Linked DNA regions of Homo sapiens: region 1 is linked to region 2. Evidence: promoter capture Hi-C in 16 types of primary human blood cells and fetal thymus (Javierre and others, 2016). All regions are on one chromosome and are shown on one strand. Each heading gives the region's core, a stretch centred on a gene start or on the middle of the fragment in contact. The rest is flanking DNA. Distances are from core to core; before and after follow the strand shown. Region 1 has its middle 55 kb from the start of OLFML3. Region 2 holds the start of SYT6 (synaptotagmin 6).

Region 1 (5,614 bases), core at 2,190-4,689, 120 kb after region 2:
AAATTACAGTCAAAGAGGGCTTGTTCTCTCGCAGGCAGGAGTGGGCGTCGCAAGGTGCTCAGTGGGGGTGCTTTATGAGCCAGGATGAGCCAGGAAAAGGACTTTCACAAGGTAATGTCATCAGTTAAGGCAAGGACCGGCCATTTACACTTCTTTTGTGGTGGAATGTCATCAGTTAAGGTGGGGCAGGGCATATTCACTTCTTTTGTGATTCTTTAGTTACTTCAGGCCATCTGGGCGTATACGTGCAGGTCACAGGGGATGCGATGGCTTGGCTCGGGCTCAGAGGCCTGACAATAACCTTCTAGAAACATTTGAGTGGCAAGAGAAGAATGCCTCAAGTAAGCATGTGTACAACTGCAGTAAACACACTGCATATGTGGCCCCTCCCAAGTGCTGGCAGGCCACTGCGCATGTGGACAGCCCACCCCAAGGGAAGAATCGGGGGAGAAGGGATGCAAGACCCCAAAATATGCCAACATATAAAACCTTAAGTCAAAGGTCAAACTGTGCACTGGATCTTTTAAGTTGCCTGCTTGGCCTTCTTCCAAGCATACTTTACTTCCTTTCATGCCTGCTCTAAAGCTTTTTTATAAAGTTTCACTGCTTCTCTAAAACTTACCTTGGTCTCTTACTCTGCCTTATACCCCTCAGTTGAATTCTTTTTTCTGAGGAGACAAGAATTGAGGTTGCTGCAGACCCATATGGATTTGCCACTGGTAATAAATGTATTGAACAATTGATCAGAGGCCCTTCATTGCCCTCTTCCAGGTGTCCACATCTCTGTTCTCTGGAAGGCCTGCCTGGGCCCAGGACTGTTTCTGTCACATGCACTTGCCTGAAGAGCCCTGACTTAGTAGACAGGTGGGTGGCTCTTAAGGTGGGTTTAGCTCTTCTGTGACTTTTTCTGTCCTGAGCCTCTATTGGAGCTAAGCCTCATTCACTGCCACGTGATGTGGCAGACTGGCACCACCCTCACCAGAGTTCCAACCTTGTAATCCATGTGACAGATCCCTCCTTCCTCCAAATCTCCAAATAGCAGGGAAATTACTTGTCATTTGGTCATTCTCTGTGCCTGGGTAATCAAAGCTGTCACCTGGGGTGTGTCAGATGACCACTGATTATGGATTCTCCCCTTTCCTAACACAGCCTAGCCAGTCTTCGTCAGACTGTATAGTTATTTTATTTATTTTTACCTTTTTCATTTTTACACCTCTGTTCTAGGCAAACACAAACTCTATAGTAATATCTCTGATGGCATTTGAAGCAATTCTTTATCAAAGTTCTCCAAAGCTAGAAAGACCTGGAGCACTGAAGGTTGTGATCATTTAGTCTCCATTTCCGAACTAGTGTAGTGTGTAGTTTGAGAGATTGAGTTCTAGAGCCACACTGCCTCAGACAGATCCTAGTTCCACCACTCGCTAGGGGAATGACCTTGGGCAAGTCACATGAACTTTTAATTCAAGTTTGTCCAACCTGCAGCCTATGGGCCATATGCAGCCCAGGATGGCTTTAAATATGGCCCAACACAAATTCATAAACTTTCTTAAAATATTATGAGTTTTTTTTGTAATTTTTTTTTTTTTTTAGCTCATCAGCTATTGTTAGTGTTAGTATATTTTATGTGTGGCCTAAGACAATTCTTCCTCCAATGCGGCCCAGGGACGCCAAATGATTGCACACGCCTGTTTTAATCCTTTGGTTGCTCATCTATGAAATGGAAATAGAAAATAATAGTGTCTTTTCTTAGTATTACTGTGAGGATTAAACAAGACCATCCAGGTAAAAGAGCTTAGAACAGAGTAGCTCCTCAAATAAAGGAGAGCTACCATTATCTGTACATAAGAGAAGGCAACGCCTCGGGCAGAATGTTCCCCATTCTCTAATTCCCTTCCTCATCCCACTCCATCCCCTTCACAGTCCCCACTGTAAGTCCTTCCTCAGTCAGGATATTCTTCCTCTCCTATAGGATGAGGAAAACCTAAGCCCACTCTCCTCTTGGTCCTGCCATTTCCTCAGGCGGGTGTCAGTATGGTCTTCCTCCATCCAAGGCTCTGCTAATCAGCTGAGAACTACGCATGTGGGGAGGGATGATGAGCAGAAATAGTGGATTTTTCACCTCCATTTCAGCTCCTCTCCATGAGCAAATGCTGCAGTCTTCTTTCCCTGAATGACCTAAAAGAAAATACCCCTTTGCAATTCATTTTCTTACAAAGACCTCAGTCTAGCATATGTAATGCATGCATATTCTTCCCATTAACACAGCTTTGACCCTACTCTTAAGGAAGTAATTATCCTGGCCTTATTATGCTAAAGAACCTTTTGCCTACGTTCTGACCTGGTTTTTATTACAAGGCGTCTCCCCGTTAACTACAAAGGCTTCCATCTGAATTGGGAGATTAATGGTACCATCTCCTTGGCATAATTTCTCTGATCCCCAAATTCCTCTTTTAATGATAGCTGTTTTTCTTGCTGCTCATTTCGCTGTTCACTTCCATCTTCCTATTTCGAAGCTCCAAACCCTTGTGGGAACTCCCACTCAGCAGCAGTTTCTAGCTGGATGGGCACCTCTTGGTCCCAGCCCACTGTAGAGATGACTAACCCATCCTAAACTCAAAGATGAATCACTCAGATTACCAGCTCCCACCAATTTTTCACAGACCCCGTTACCTCCTAGGGTGCCCATCTCATCCCACCCTGTCCTCCTGGAACAGTGGTTCTCACCTTTGTCCACTCCTCCGGCATGCACTTGTGCTCACATTCCTAGCACCAGTGTTATGAAAGAGGGGTCCCAATCCAGACCCCGAAAGAGGGTTCTTAGATCTTGCACAAGAAGGAATTCCAGGTGAGTCCACAGAGTAAAGTGAAAGCAAGTTTATTAAGAAAGTAAAGGAATGAAAGAATGGTTGCTCCATGGACTGAGCAGGGCATTTCTGAAAGCAAGAGGAGTAAGGCGCCCACCTTATTAGGTGCAATGCATGTTTATATATGAGATAACAAGGCAAAAAATCATGAAAAGGATGTGGTCTATTACAAGGGCTCATGACAAAGGATTGTTAATCCTTGTGTAACTACTGACTTTTGCAAGAATCTATATTACTATCTTTAAAGCAAAATTTATTACTAAACAAAGAATGCTTTTGTGCTTAAGATAGCAGGACATCAAGACATTTCTTGGGTCTGTTAAGTCCTGGGTCTGTTTGGTAAACATTATTAACCTGTTCCCTTAACTGTAAACACCCTGTGACTGCGAATCCCTAACCTCCTGGGAATGCAGCCCAGCAGGTCTCAGTCTCATTTTACCCAGCACCTATTCAACATGGTTCCAAAGCTTCTGACAGTAAGACACCCCTGGATTTTCTTTTTTCTTTTTTTTTAAACTTTATGCTTTGTGGCATTAATAAAACCGTCCTCAGGTAACGCTCTATCCCCAGTCCCAACCATTATTACAAATCTTCCCACAACTGAGCAACACTCCCCCACATCCCATTAAAAACCTGCATTCTCTACCTATTGTATTCCAGAGCTACAATTTCTAGAAGCTTCTTAAACATGCAATAACAACAAACACAATTCCTTCTAAGGGAAAAGAAGGTCCAACCCCATCGCAAAATTCCCCAAGAAACAGGAAAGCGTTAATTCCACCTTAAATCCCAAGCAGTCAATAACCCAGTGCCCATAATGGGCTCTGCAGATCACCCCACCCCACCATCTGCCCCAATTTCCAAAATCTGCTCAGCAACCAAAGCCATTAAATCCAGAAACTAATTTGTAAGGAAAACAATGAAAAGAGTAATAATCTCTCCGTAGGATGCCAATGGAAGGTCCCACAGGGACTGGTGCACTGTAGAGAAAGGAGAAGGGTACCTGGAAAGAAATGCCTATTAACATTCAAAGCCCCCTAGTGGAATGGAAGCTGACCTGCTGCAGAATGAAAATGTCCCAGCCCACAGGAGCCTGCACTCAGGTTCGCTTTATTTATCCTGCAAACAGGAGTTGCTAATAGCAAACAATCTTGGGCCTGCTCCCCACAGCTCAGGGGTAGCTCGCAGCGCTGTCCCCAAGACACGTGCCTGGGTTGCTTTGGAGCAATGCTATTTGCAAAAGGAGAAAAAGAAAAATGAAGCAGGGATGTGGAAGTGGGAGAAAGAGCCAGAAAGGCTGAAGAGTAAGCTGGCAGAGAGGGCAGTCTGGTGGTCTTTGCACAGTTGCTGCAGCGGGGGCCAACCTTGCCGAAGGGAAATACTGATGTGATCTTCTGTTCTTCATGGATGGGGGCCAGATACTCAGAAATGGGGAGAGATTCACCTTGAGTCATCCAGTGAGTCACAGACAGGAGGCAGAAATAGATCTTATGACCCACTGTTCACTGTCAAAGACATCTTTTAGCATCTGTAACCAGGATTCCTGAGTGGGGATGGATTCGGGTGCTCCTTGCATTCAGATTGGTTCATTTGATGAGATGTCTGTTCTCTTCCATTCCAAAGGCAAGTGATTTAAAGTCAAGACAGACCAGGATCTTCAAACAAACTTTCCTGGCCAAGGCTACCTCTCTACTCACATTAAGTATGTCTGTTTCCCATTGTTGGCAAGGTAGAATTCATTTGCTTCCTGTCTCTCCTTTGCCCGACTGCTGTCTTGCTTCCACAACACCAAGTCCATCTAGGAATTTTAGATCTCGCTGGGGCCTCATGCATTCCAGAAAGCCTTTCTTGATTAGATTGCCCCAGTTTTGTTCTTTTCTCTTACTTGTATTTTATTAGGGCTTGTGACAGACAGTGGGAACTGCTTACCCAACATCCAAGGTCCCTTCAGCTCCTATGTTGTCAGAAGTCAGATTCAGTTCTGATATTCACCCTCCCCCTGTGCTCAAGGAGGGTGTTCCTTGTCACACACGTCCGTGTGAAGAGACCACCAAACAGGCTTTGTGTGAGCAACAAGGCTGTTTATTTCCCCTGGGTGCAGGTGGGCTAAGTCCAAAAAGAGAGTCAGTGAAAGGAGATAGGGGTGGGGCTGTTTTATAGGATTTGGGTAGGTAGTGGAAAATTACAGCCAAAGAGGGTTGTCCTCTGGTGGGCAGGGGTGGGGGTCACAAGGTGCTCAGTGGGGGAGCTTTTGAGCCAGGATCAGCCAGGAGAAGGAATTTCACAAGGTAATGTCATCAGTTAAGGCAGGAACAGGCCATTTTCACTTCTTTTGTGATTCTTCACTTGCTTCAGGCCATCTGGATGTATACATGCAGGTCACAGGGGATATGATGGCTTAGCTTGGGCTCAGAGACCTGATATTCCTGTCTTCTTATATTAATAAGAAAAATAAAATGAAATAGTGGTGAGTGTTGGGGCAGTGAAAATTTTGGGGGGTGGTGTGGAGAGATAATGGACGGTGTTTCTCAGGGCTGCTTCGAGCGGGATTAGGGGTGGCGTGGGAAGCTAGAGTAGGAGAGATTAAGCTGAAGGAAGATTTTGTGGTAAGGGGTGACATTGTGAGGTTGTTAGAAGAAACATTTTTCGTATAGAATGATTGGTAATGACCTGGATACGGTTTTGGATGAATTAAGAAACTAAACGGAAGACACAAGACCCGAATAAAAGAAGTAGAAAAACAGATATTA
Region 2 (5,760 bases), core at 3,261-5,760:
TTTGGCTCCCTTCCTAGCCCTTCCATTCTGACATCATCTTCACTTCTCAGTAATGGAGACAGACCTCGACCCACCATGGTTAGGCCTAGCTCTAAAGTTGTTTGAAGGATGATACTGCCTTCTGACCTTCAACCTGTCTCTGCTTCCCCGAACTCCAGCCTGCTTTTGTCCACAAAGCCAGGCTGGATGCAGAAAACATTGTCCAGTCTTCCCAAGTCTGATGTGGAATATTGTGTGCTTGAGCAGAGAGCACAGAACAGAGATGAGACTGCTGAAATAGGGGAGGAATGGGAGAGAGGCAAATATACCCTGGTTCAGGATGTTTGAACTGCCAAGCATATTTCTTGGAATAAAAGCAAGAATGGACGCTTTCAAAAAGCACCTAGGCATTGACCTTGAGCTCTGCAACGTCTTCTGCATCTTCTCAGGTAAGGAGGAATCCCTGAAAACTCTGATGATGGCTTGGGACAGCATGATTTGCAGAAGTCACCCAGCTTTGGCTAGATTTGCTATCTTGGTATGGGGGCTGGGGGAGAGAGTGTCATCTGCAGGAAATACTGATAAAGCTGTTCTGGCTGAAACCCCATAGGGAATCCATAGTACAGTTTATTCCAAATAATGATATGAAGTTATACCCTCAAATACAGGACCTCAACTTGATTCTGCAGTAGACTAGGTTCAACTGATGTTTGTTTTTTTGAGTAAATTAACACTTCTGCAGAAGGCGGCTACATGCCTCAGTAAGCAGAGGATGGGGGAGGTGGGGAGAAGAGACCAGGGGCCCTCAGGGTTGGGTCAGAGCCTCCTTAGCTTCTATCCACGTGGCAAAGCTGTAGGTGTGCTTGTGTGTCTATTCCTCTGTGTCTCTCCCTGCACGTCAGACAATCCAGCTACAATCGTCAGACTGCTCCCTTTACATTTCTGCTGGGGACTTGGAGGGAGGAGGGAATGGGGAAAGGGCTCCCTATTTAGAAATTGCATTGAGATGGAAAGACAATATGACACATCGGCTCATGTCAAAGGAGCTCATTCTTCCCGCCTACAGCATTAGCAATTTCCTACCAAGGTTCAATTTTTTTAAAGAAATTATTATTTGGTTTTAATTTATTTTATTTGCAACATAACTCAACAAGACATTGCTGCTCAGAGCAGAGTGGGAGCCTGCCCAAGGGCAGAGACTTAAGTTGGGGGCAGGAGATGAGCACATTGGCTATTTCCGAAGAGAGGAGGGCATAGGAGTGGGAGGCCTCTTGTTTCTGTCTCAAACCTCCTCTCATTCTGCCTCCCATTCCACCCCAGCTCCTCTTCCTGCATCTGAGAAGTCTGGTCTGGAGGTGCCCAGACTCGGGATGCTCCATGCATGGCTGTAGGCGCAATGAGAACGATGGGGGAGGGGGAGCTGAAAGTGAGTTGGCCTCTGTAAAACCACCCTCAGCTTCAGAGCCAGGAAAGGCTGCCTCCCTCCTCCCTTTGCCCCAGCCTCCTCTTTTCTCCCTCATGTAAAATCCTAGAGTGCTGTTGCTGGAAGGAGCCTCAAAGAGCTCCTAATCCAACTTCACATAGGCACACTGAGCCCCAGATAGGGGATGTGACAGCCTCGTGGCTGCTTTGGTGCACCAGCCCTGAATCCCAGCCCTCCCAGGCCCTGTCCAATGTACTTATTTGCCACCACTCCATGCTTAACTGTCTCTGCTCCTGCTTCTCTCCTCCCCACCCCTAAACCCAAACTCAGAATGGGATTTCTCTGAGAGATAGAATTGAAGGGCAACAATTCCACTTCTTTCCACCTCTTTCCCTCTCTGGGTTTGAGTGGGACCCTGGATCCTCCCTCCCAGCTCTTGGTGGGACCCTGGGACTCTGAATTTTATCTCTTCATATGGGAAGAAGCAAAGGTGTGTTTGGGGGTTGGGTTTGCAGGGCAAAGGGGTTTGAGAGACAAAAAAGTTTCCATCATTACATGAAGAATTTTTCTGCTTTGTGGCTGGTTATGTGACCACAGTGGTATCAGCAATTGACCTGGGGGCTGGGGGAGGTAGCGGGCTAAAGAGGACAACTAGGGTGAGGCTTTACCTTAATGTCTCCTTCTGAATGTGTGTTTCTTTACCTGTACATCTGTCTCCCTGTCTGTTTCTCTGTTCTCTATTTCCTATAACTGTCTCTCTGTATCTCTGTCTCATCCTCTGTCTCTCTCATTTGTATCTGTCTCTTGCCTCTATTTCTGTCTCTGTTTCTTTCTCTCTGTCTCTCTCATCTCTGTCTCTCCCACACACGCTAACTCCTACAATCCAACTTCAATAGCTATTGACTGACCCAGGGGCCCTAACCTGTTTCTGCAGCCCTATCAGGGCAGCAGCTCCTTCACACTGCTAGATTGAGAAATGCCAGGTCCGGAGCTGCTGCCGGGGCGCCAGAGACGCTGCAGAAGCGCCTGCCGAGTGTGGAGGCTGAATCCAGGAACAATGAGAAATTATCTGTTAATTCTCGGCTCCTGCCACCTGCTCTGCTCCAAACAAGCTCCTTTGCCTTCAGTTTAGATGCAAATTCCCCCACTCGATGTAAGCAAAATATTGATTTCCCTGCATCACAGGTCTGGGCCCTTGGAATGGTCCTGTGTTTTTTCATTCTCTGCAAAGGCAAAACAAGGTGCTTTGTTCTGTGAATTTCCCCCAGGAACTCGCGAGGGGGAGGGAGAAATAGCAGGGGAGTGACAGAGTTGCCATAAACACGGGCAAAGAGCAGTTCTCCATTTGTATTTTACATAAACACAAACCTGCCACTTGGGAAACTGCTAATAAGCGTTTAGCCAGAGGCTCTTCTGGGTGCTGAGATCTGCATCGGGTGATGGAAAAGAAATTAATGGGGCCTCTAGGCTCCTCAGGTGGGTTTTCAGAAGCACCAGGAAGGCGCATAGGGATGCCAGAGCCCCACTTGTTCTTGGAACAGCAACCAAACACCTCCAGCAGGAAGGCAGCCCGGATTGCACAGTATCGCCTGCGTCGTGTCTGCTTGGTCCCTGCCTGAGTTCCTAGCCTTCTGCTATCACAGGCACAGGGGTCAGGGTGGAAGCTGCGAACCTTCAACAATTGCCTCTCCCTCGTCCCCTAAACTTATGCCCACGCGATGGTAGCACCAACTGGGTCTTCAGCACCGTGGACAGAGCCAGGGGGCGCCTCACGGTGGAAAAGCCGCCTGGCTGGGCCAGGGTCCTCACAGGCCTTGCCTTAGCCCTTGGTGCCCCAGGCACCAGCTGCTAGGGGATCGCAAGTCCAAGGGCCGGTTGGCACAGATGGCGCGCAGTGGAGACCGCCAGGAGCTAAGGCTCCGAATCTCCTCCCTCCGGAACGTGAGTCACTGCCCGAGTCACTTCCAATAAGCGTGTTAATTAAGAGGCAAGACCTTTCTCCCTCGCCAGCCACTCGGGCATACACCAACCCAGCAGCCTCCAGGGGCTGCAGCTAAAGCTTCCTTCCCAGCTCCGGGAGAGCAAATGGACCTGAGTCTGGGGCTTCAGGCGAGCCCCACACAGAAGGGGCCCCACCGCCGACAGGTGTAGATCAAGAGACTCCCGAGATAGGCCCCTGCAGGGCGCTGGTCCCCCGGCCTCCCTGACCATGGCTCACAGACTTCCAGCGCTGAGTGAGGCAGCTCGAAGCCTCTCAGCCGATCTGTTCCTGGGCCTCACTCCACAGTTTCTGAGGGGATCTCTACTTTAAGTCTAGCCTCAATCCTCCCGTTGAGCTTTCTGTCTTTCTTGTTATGCTTAGCAGAAAGATACATGATCTCTGGTGCTGTTTCACCGAAGCAAGGAGGTGGGTCGGCGGAACTGAGCGCCCTGCGCCCTCTTGAAATGACCCCCCATTCCTGTTTGCCAGAAACTTTTCCCTCCCGTTGCCATGGAGAGAGACGGCCGCTGCCTCCCGTCGCCATAGCAACATGCGGGTACCGCGGACCGCAGGATTGCGGAGCTCGGAAAGTCTTGCAGTTCGCATCGCCCGCCTGTCTTGGGGTCTTCTACCTCCGAAGCTGGGACTCGGGGGCCAGTCTAACTGCTCCCGTCAGGAACCTCGGCCAAGGTCCTCCCAGACCCTGCCTGACCGTCGCTCTTTCTGTTACGGGGTTATCTATTTCTCTGTCATTCGTGTGGCATGTGGCAGTTTACCCAGTGTTTTCACAAACACGATCTTTCTATCCCCAGGGAGTCCGTGAAGTACTTAAAATCATTACACCTCCTTTACGGAGAGGAAAATTGAGGCTCAGAGACGCCCAAGGTCACACCAGGCAGTGAATGCGGAGTGGGAACCCGGACTCTTTCCTGGCCTTGCACCCTCCGAGATTCGGGACAGCCCGGCTTCCCGCCTCGAAACCCCCACCCCCCGGACTCAGGCCAGTCCCTGAGTGTAGAGGGGGCGGCCGCGAGGCGCCAGACTCGCCAGCTGCCGCGGGATGCCACGTGAGGGGCGGGGACCCTGCGGGGAAGTGATTAAAAGCAGAGCGGAGCCGCAGGGGGCCGCTGCAGGGAGGGTCTTCTTGGGGCCGTCGTGCCCCGCCCCAGTGCGGCCGGGGCGCGGGTTCGAGCTGCTGCTCGGCAAGCCTGGGTGTCTAGGGCATGAGCGGAGTGTGGGGGGCCGGCGGGCCTCGGTGCCAGGAGGCGCTCGCGGTCCTCGCCTCGCTGTGCCGGGCCCGGCCGCCCCCTCTCGGGCTGGACGTGGAGACTTGTCGGAGCTTCGAGCTGCAGCCCCCAGAGCGGAGTCCCAGCGCGGCAGGCGCAGGTAACGGGAGACCCAGGGCCCCCTCCCTTCCTGGATATCCGTCCTGCGATCTCCCTTCCCCAAAGCCCCGGTCCCAGGAGCCCCAGAACCTAGAGAGAACTCCCCAGCTCGGGATTCTGGATTGGGAGCCAGCCTCGTCCAGCCCTCTGGCCCATCGCTTGCACAGCCAGGAGAGACCCGAAGGGGAGCGGAGGTTGGGGTAGAAGCCCCCGGCCCTCCTGTATTACTACTGCGGAATGCGGGGGACCCCGCAGACAGCCAGGCTCCCAGGACGGGGCACCCTTGGGGCTTCAGTTTCCCTCGCATCTCCAAGCTCGCTCTGCGGGCGATTTGCCAGGAGAGGGGTCCATGGAGAGAGCGGGAGACGAGGGGCGCCCGGCTGAGGAATAGGGCTTGCCTCCTAGCGAGTGTCGAGGTCCCCGGGTCCGTGCGTCGGTCTGTCCGTCCGTTTGTGTGTTCTCGCGGTGAACGCGGGCGGACCCCCAGTCTCTCCGGGAGAAACTTGGGTCTGCGGCTGGCACGAGGTCTTTGTGTCCGGGTGTCTCTCCGGCTGCGAGTGGTTTTCCGCGTCTCCGCTGGGGGGCGGGGGACAGGGGGCGGGGTGGGGGAGGGTATGAGGGTGTTGCGGCGTCCTTCCCCCACCCCCTCTCGCCCCTATAACTCGCTCCCTCCGTCCCTCTCGGACTCGGACTCGGGGCCGGTGCGCGACTGAGCTGGCGCCTCTAGCCGACTTTGCCAAGAGGGCGCCTCCTGCCCGATCCGCGCTGACCCTGCGCGGGACGCAGCCCCAGGCGGCTGCCTAGCCGAGGCGGGAGCCCGAGCTGAGTCGAGCTCGCCGGAGCGGGTGAGTCCCGAGCCCGATCCCCGCCGGGCTGGACCCTGGCGCGCAGCTGCGGCGTCTCCGGGGAGTCGCGGCAGGGGGAATGGCGTGTCGCGCCCTGGCGGCGGGAGCTGCGGGAGGGTCGGCGACGTGGCGGCCGGCCCAGGGTAT

The links. Contacts are between HindIII fragments. The CHiCAGO score rates a contact against its expected background, and 5 or more counts as called.
Region 1: a contact is called between a fragment that was not itself captured here and the fragment with the promoter of SYT6 in region 2, in 5 of 17 cell types (M0 macrophages, M1 macrophages, M2 macrophages and 2 more). The highest score is 7.4, in M0 macrophages.

What each region holds. Positions count from the first base shown.
Region 1 is chr1:114,031,757-114,037,370 of GRCh38, reverse strand. No RefSeq gene overlaps it. Among named protein-coding and RNA genes, the nearest start is that of OLFML3, 55 kb to the right of the region's middle. RefSeq lists enhancers at 1-329, 4,999-5,582 and a silencer at 2,050-2,344. The HindIII fragment of the contact is 211 bases long and covers 3,334-3,544 here.
Region 2 is chr1:114,152,619-114,158,378 of GRCh38, reverse strand. SYT6 (synaptotagmin 6) reads left to right here and starts at 4,510. Exons shown (of 8, transcript NM_001253772.2): 1 at 4,510-4,769. The coding sequence starts at 4,607. RefSeq lists a silencer at 1,498-1,792 and an enhancer at 2,722-3,335. The HindIII fragment of the contact is 4,368 bases long and covers 3,464-5,760 here.